2 separate regions of the Homo sapiens genome follow, and region 2 is linked to region 1. Evidence: promoter capture Hi-C in 16 types of primary human blood cells and fetal thymus (Javierre and others, 2016). All regions are on one chromosome and are shown on one strand. Each heading gives the region's core, a stretch centred on a gene start or on the middle of the fragment in contact. The rest is flanking DNA. Distances are from core to core; before and after follow the strand shown. Region 1 holds the start of BCL2L15 (BCL2 like 15). Region 2 overlaps LRIG2 (leucine rich repeats and immunoglobulin like domains 2).

Region 1 (3,597 bases), core at 270-2,769:
ACAGTTCCTGACCCACATCCTCACCAGCATTTGGTTTTGCCAGTGTTCTGGATTTTGGCCATTTTAATAGGTGTGCAGTGGTTGTATGTGTTTTAGAATGGAACAGAAAACACAAGATTGGCTTTGATATTTTGCAAGATAGAAATTCCATTCTGAACAACTGACTTACTGTTTATGCTTGAATCTTTTTTTGTTTTTTTTTTTTTTGGAGACAGAGTCTTGCTCTGTCACCCAGGCTGGAGTGCAGTGGCGTAATATCGACTCATCGCAACCTCCGCCTCCCAGGTTCAAGCGATTCTCATGCCTCAGCCTCCTTAGTAGCTGGGATTACAGGCATGCACCACCACGCCCAGTTCATTTTTGTATTTTTTAGTAGAGATGGGTTTTGCCATGTTGGCCAGGCTGGTCGTGAACTCCTGACCTCCGGTTATCTGCCCGCCTCAGCCTCCCAAAAGTGCTGGGATTACAGGTATGAGCCACCATGCCCGGCCTATGCTTGACTCTTTTATTAGTTGGAGCTGTTAATATTAATAACTTCACCAGGTCAGACAGGTTGAGTGGTAAGTTTGCTGATAGGTTTGATGGCTGCTTCTGAGACCCAGACCCAAAATCTAGGTTTAGCTACGTTAAGAAGGCAACCACTACAGATAAGTGTCCAATCATGAGATCTCTTAAAACAATGATGGAGTCCAACCCTGTTAGGAAAATCCTTTTGCTAGACAGAGAATCTCAGATCTCTTTCCTCCTGGTCATTATGTCTTGGGCTAAAAGGAGGACATTTAACATTTATTGTATGCCAAACAGTGCTAGGCCATTCCGCATGTTATCTTATTTAATCCTCATAATTTATCTATGAAATATTTTCTGTTGTCCCCATTTATAATTCCAAGTTGTTTTTTTTTAACCTTCCCAGACTTTATATCTGCTACCTCTCCGCCTAGAATAGTGTTATGCCTCCTTTTTGCATAATGAATGCCTACTTATTCCTCAGAGCTCATGTCAGATGGTACTATTTTAAGGAAGCCTTCCCAGTCCCCTAGGTTTGTTTCCCTATTAAACTGATCAAAGGCTTGATTCCCTGTTACACTTCACTGATCAAAGTGCACTGATCTCAATAGCACAAATAACAATGCGATTACTCATTTAATATCTGTCATTTCTGCTGAAGTGTAAGCTTCATGAGCACAGTAACTGTGCCTGTATCATTTTTCTATGTTACTTGTAGTGCCAACTATAGTTCCTTGTTCAGTAAGTAATTATTATATGATTATGGCAAATAAATTCCATAAACAGAAGTTGAACGCTGGTCCACTGTAACTTCAAAACCTTCCTTCAAATTATACCATGTGCAGGACCTAAGAAGTCGAGGAAGTATTTCTTAATAAAATTACTCCAGAGGCTCTTCCTGAACTCTATTTCAGTTCTAGGTTGGCTACCTAACGATAAAAGTTAAGCATTAATTTTATGTGGTTAGGGTGTGGTCTGAGATAGAGAACCTAAAGTCTTTAAAGTCTCCCCAGTTCCAAGTAGGTAATCCTTCTGAGAAGTCCCACCTTTCTGAGCAGCTGTGTTTGAAGAAAGCTAGTGGGAAAAGTTCCAGGATTACATGTCAGGAAACTACAAGAGGTAGAAACATTTGTTGATTTACCAGTGTTTTTAACTTCCTGCTGGGCTGAAAACTGCTTGTTTCGTGGAAAAGCAAAACTTGACAGCAAACATCTAAAATGAAGAGCTCCCAAACTTTTGAGGAACAAACGGAATGCATTGTGAACACTCTACTCATGGACTTCTTGAGCCCAACATTGCAGGTTGCCAGCCGGAACCTATGCTGTGTAGATGAAGTAGATTCAGGTAAGGTTCCTGCCCTAGGCGGTGATTGCAGGTCAATAAGAGTATGTTTTCAGCCGGGCGCAGTGACTGATTCCCGTAATCCCAGCACTTTGGGAGGCCAAGGTGGGTGGATCACCTGAAGTCAGGGGTTTGAGATCCGCCTGGCCAACGTGGTGAAACCCCATCTCTACTAAAAGTAGAAAAATTAGCCAGGTGTGGTGGCTCATGCCTGCAGTCCCAGCTACATGGGAGACTGAGGCATGAGAATTGCTTGAACCTGGGAGGCGGAGGTTGCAGTGAGCTGAGATCACGCCACTGCACTCCAGTCTGGGCGACAGAGACTCGGTCTCAAAAAAAAAAAAACAGTATATTTTATTTATTTCCTTTAAGTTTCAAAAGGCAAACTCTAAGCTTTCAGTAACACCTAAAGCGAAAGAGGTTCTCAATGAAGGGAAACTTTCTGACTATTGGTGTTGACAGAACATTTAAGCTCTTGGGAGATCATGATATGAAAATTATTTAAAAGACAAGACAAATTTTTCTCATTGCCCAGATTCCTGGGACTTGCCATTGCTTCAAGCATTGTAACAAATGTGTTCCCTCTGTCATAGGAGAGCCTTGTTCTTTTGATGTGGCTATCATTGCTGGTCGCCTTCGGATGTTGGGTGACCAGTTCAACGGAGAATTGGAAGCTTCTGCCAAAAACGTCATTGCAGAAACCATTAAGGGACAGGTCAAGTTTCTACTTCATGCTATTGTTTGCTGCTTTTTTTTCTATTTCAAACTTCCTTTTCTTACTACTCCCATACTACAGTGACTAGGAATGTTCTATGAAAATATTTGGGTGCTTATATTTCAAGGAAGTATAGCAAGAATTCTCCAATTGCTAAAACCTAAGTGGTACAGAGATGGAAAATTTTGGGCATAGGCTGATGAACCTTCAGTTTGTCTCTACTTGGTCTTCATCACAGCTGTTGTGCTTAGTGTGCACAGAGCACATTTATAACACTTTATTCTTGGCAAAGTATAGTATCTTTTTTTTTTTTTTTTTTTTCAGACAGGGTCTTACTGTGTCACCCAGGCTCAAGTGCAGTGGTGTGATCTCAGCTCACTGCAGCCTCCACCTCCTGGGCTCAAGCGATCCTCCCACTGCAGCCTCCTGAGTAGCTGGGACTTCAGGCAAGTGCTACCATGCCCATCTATTTTTTTTATTTTTTTATTTTTAGTAAAGATGGGTTTTTGCCATGTTGCCCGGGCTGGTCTTGAATGCCTAAGCTCAGGTGATCCACTCACCTCGGCCTCCCAAAGTGCTGGGATTATAGGCGTGAGCTACCACACCCAGCCTATGCTTTTTTTTTTTGAGATGGAGTCTCACTCTGTCACACCCAGGCTGGAGTGCAGTGGCGCGATCTCGGCTCACTGCAACCTCCACCCACCGGGTTCAAGCAATTCTCCTGCCTCAGCCTCCCAAGTACCTGGGACTACAGGGGTGAGCCACCGCGCCTGGCCCATCTGGGCGGATCACCTGAGGTCAGGAGTTCCAGACCAGCATGGCCAAAATGGTGAAACCCCGTCTCTACCTAAAAATACAAAAATTAGCCGGGCGGATCACTTGATGTGAGGAGTTCAACACCAGCCTGGCCAACATGGAGAATCCCTGTCTCTACCAAAAATACAAAACTTAGCTGGGTGTGATGGCCCATGCCTGTAATCCCAGCTACTTGAGAGACTGAGGCAGGAGAATCGCTTGAACCCGGGAGGTGGAGG
Region 2 (3,522 bases), core at 794-3,293, 770 kb after region 1:
AACTCTTCTCAGCCAGGCATGGTGGCTCACGCCTGTAATCCCAGCACTTTGGGAGGCCAAGGCAGGCAGATCACGAGGTCAGCAGTTCGAGACCAGCCTGGACAACATGGTGAAACCCCATCTTATAAAGATACAAAAAATTAGCCGGTTGTGGTTGCACATGCCTGTAATCCCAGCTACTCAGGAGGCTGAGGCAGGAAAATCGCTTGAACCTGGGAGGCAGAGGTTGCAGTGAGTTGAGATCACGCCACTGGACTCCAGCCTGGGCAACAGGGCTAGACTCCATCTCAAATAAAAAAAAAAAAACTTCTCAGTAGGCCGGGCACAGTGGCTCATGCCTGTAATCCCAGCACTTTGGGAGGCCAAGGTGGGTGGCTCACCTGAGGTCGGGAGTTTGAGACCAGCCTGACCAACATGGAGAAACCCCATCTCTACTAAAAATAGAAAATCAGCTGGGCATGGTGGCACATGCCTGTAATCCCAGCTACTCAGGAGGCTGAGGCAGGAGAATTGCTTGAACCCGGGAGGCGGAGGTCCTGGTAAGCCGAGATGGCATCATTGCACTCCAGCTTGGGAAACAAGAGCGAACCTCCATTTCCCAAAAAAAAAAAAAAAAAAAATCTTCTCAGTAAAAACCATCACCAAATTATGCCCAAATTTTATTATTACTATTTTTTGGAGACAGAGTCTCACTCTGTTGCCCAGGCTGGAGTGCAGTGGCACGATCTCAGCTCACTGCAACCTCCATCTCGAGCTTAAGTGATTCTCGTGCCTCAGCTTCCCGAGTAGGTGGGACTACAGGCATGCACCACCATGTTAGGCTAATTTTTGTATTTTTAGTGGAGACAGGGTTTCCCTATGTTGGCCAGGCTGGTCTCAAACTCCTGACCTCAAATGATCCACCTGCTTTGGCCTCCGAAAGTGCTAAGATTACAGGCGTGAGCCACTGTGCCCGGCCCCCCATATTTTATTCTTTTATTTAAATAAAGATCGGAGAAAAATTAATACCCTATATGATACCGGGTGCGGTGGCTCACACCTGTAATCTCAGCACTTTGGGAGGCCAAGGCAGGCAATCACATGAGGTCAGGAGTTCATGACCAGCCTGGCCAACATGGTTAAACCCCACCTCTACTAAAAATACAAAAATTAGCTGGGTGTGGTGGTGCACGCCTGTAGTCCCAGCTTCTTGGGAGGCTGAGGCATGAGAATTGCTTGAACCAGGGAGGCAGAGGTTGGCATGAGCCAAGATTGCACCACTACATTCCAACCTGGATGACACAGTGATACTCTGTCTCAAATAAATAAATAAATAGCCTGTATGAAACCTTTTAAAAGCTTTTTGTGTATGGCCTCTGAATTTTCAGTAGTGTGATCCTGTTACCCCCACAAAAGTTGTTTCCATCCTATAGATGAAGACTTCTTTGTAACTCTAGTATGCAGAAATCTCTGGCTATAGTTTATACCATTTAACAATGGCCAGTTACTCCTATATACCCATCTGCTTGCTTCCTGTCAAATGAGAGCACTACCTATATGATAGAAGGAAGAGTCAATTAGACGAAAGTAAAAACAAAATAACAACAAAAATACATCCCTTACCACCGCTCATCTGTGTGGAGGGAAGTTTCTTCTCACTTATCCTCTCATGGTTGGTGGGAAAGGCAGATGGCTCTCTGTTGGCTGACGGTATCAGGCTCTCTAGGGCAGTAGTATCCTGGGGAGGATGTACTAAATATGTCTCTTTAGGCATTTGGACCATGAGGCTGGACAGTGTCTGATCAAGAACGTCCTCCTCAGCAATATAGGTGTATGGACAGTATTCTCGGGTCCTGGAGTAGATGTTGGCATTGTCATAACAATCTGAGCAAATCACCCGGGTACCAGTGCCACCTAATAACAAGAAAAAGAATCTAAATATCTTTCTGTTAAGGAATTATTTTTTGCCAATCGTCAGTTTTCTTCAAAAGTTGTCATCATCATTGCTAGCATGTATTGAGCACTTACTTTATAAAGTAGGTGAAGTTTCAAGCCATTTCTGTGAATTGATTCATTAATCCTCACAACATCCCTATGAGGTAGGTATTATTATTATCCCCACTTTACAGATAGGGTAAACTAAAGCACAGAGAAGTTAAGTAACTTAACCAAAGTCATACCGCTACCGGGTGCGGTGGCTCACGCCTGTAATCCCAGCACTTTGGGAGGCCGAGGCGGGCAGATCACAAGGTAAGGAGATCTAGACCATCCTGGCTAACACGGTGAAACCCCATCTCTACTAAAAATACAAAAAATTAGCCAGGCGTGGTGGCGTGCACCGGTAGTCCCAGCTACTCGGGAGGCTGAGGCAGGAAGATGGCGTGAACCCGGGAGGCGGAGCTTGCAGTGAGCCGAGATCACGCCACTGCACTCCAGCCTGGGCGACACAGCGAGACTCTGTCTCCAAAAAAAAAAAAACAAAGTCATACTGCCAGAGTGAGGAGCAGAAACAGCCATTCTGGCTCCAGAGCCCATGCTCTTGAAAACTACACTGAACCATCTCTGTCTATTGTGGATAGACAGATCATGCCCAAATCAAGGGAGCAAGATAAGGCTGGTACTGTGCTACAAGACACATGCTTGGCTTAAGCAAACTAAGTCAGAGAATAAGGAGTTATGATGACTTCACTTCATGAAAAACCATGTTACTTTAATGAGTCAAGAGGTTAAGTAACACCAATTGCTACAAGCATCCCTAGGGAAAGCTTCTGACAATGAGAAGTCCTGCCTGACAAGTACATGGTTGACAGAAGTATAGGTTTAACAATGAACTCCCTGGATTATTATGTGCTTTGAAAACTGAATGATGAAGGAGAGAAGAGAGAGTGAGAAATAAAGAGTGAGTTACTTATTCAAAATCATGCAACAGGCCAGGAGCAGTGGCTCATGCCTGTAAGCCCAGCACTTGGGGAGGCCGAGGCAGGTGGATCACCTGAGGTCCGAAGTTTGAGACCAGCCTGGCCAATATGGTGAAACCCCATCTCTACTAAAAATACAAAATAAGCCGGGCATGGTGACAGGTGCCTGTAATCCCAGCTACTCAGGAGGCTGAGGCAGGAGAATCGCTTGAACCGGGGAGGCAAAGGTTACAGTGAGCTGAGATGGTGCCATTGCACTCCAGCCTGGGTGACAAGAATGAAACTCTGTCTCAAAAAAACCAAAAAACAAACAAAAAAAAATCATGCAACAGAATGTTAGAATTGGAAGAGAGTGAAAAGTAATTTAGTTTAACCCAGAAAGCAGTGTTATTTCCCACATACTTCAAAGAACAGACTTTTAAGTATTCTTTTAAAAGTCAGAAATGCCAGCCAGGTGCGGTGGCTCATGCCTGTAATCCCAGCACTTTGGGAGGCTGAGGCAGGCAGATCACAAGGTCAGCAGTTCAAGACCAGCCTGACCAACATGGTGAAACCCGTCTCTACTAAAAATACAAAAATTAGCCGGGTATGGTGGCACGCACCTGTAATCCCAGCTACTTAGGAG

Evidence for each region. The method cuts DNA at HindIII sites, captures the fragments that hold promoters and counts their contacts. A CHiCAGO score of 5 or more calls a contact.
Region 2: a fragment that was not itself captured here is called in contact with the fragment with the promoter of BCL2L15 in region 1 in 1 of 17 cell types (erythroblasts); the score reaches 5.7 in erythroblasts.

The regions. Positions count from the first base shown.
Region 1 is chr1:113,885,503-113,889,099 of GRCh38, reverse strand. It overlaps BCL2L15 (BCL2 like 15), which reads left to right and starts at 1,519. Exons shown (of 4, transcript NM_001010922.3): 1 at 1,519-1,851; 2 at 2,442-2,563. The coding sequence starts at 1,725. The region is part of intron 3 of AP4B1-AS1 (AP4B1 antisense RNA 1); the gene reads right to left. The HindIII fragment of the contact is 1,067 bases long and covers 1,177-2,243 here.
Region 2 is chr1:113,117,604-113,121,125 of GRCh38, reverse strand. It overlaps LRIG2 (leucine rich repeats and immunoglobulin like domains 2), which reads right to left. Exons shown (of 18, transcript NM_014813.3): 17 at 1,603-1,893. Among named protein-coding and RNA genes, the nearest start is that of LRIG2, 46 kb to the right of the region's middle. The HindIII fragment of the contact is 1,406 bases long and covers 1,341-2,746 here.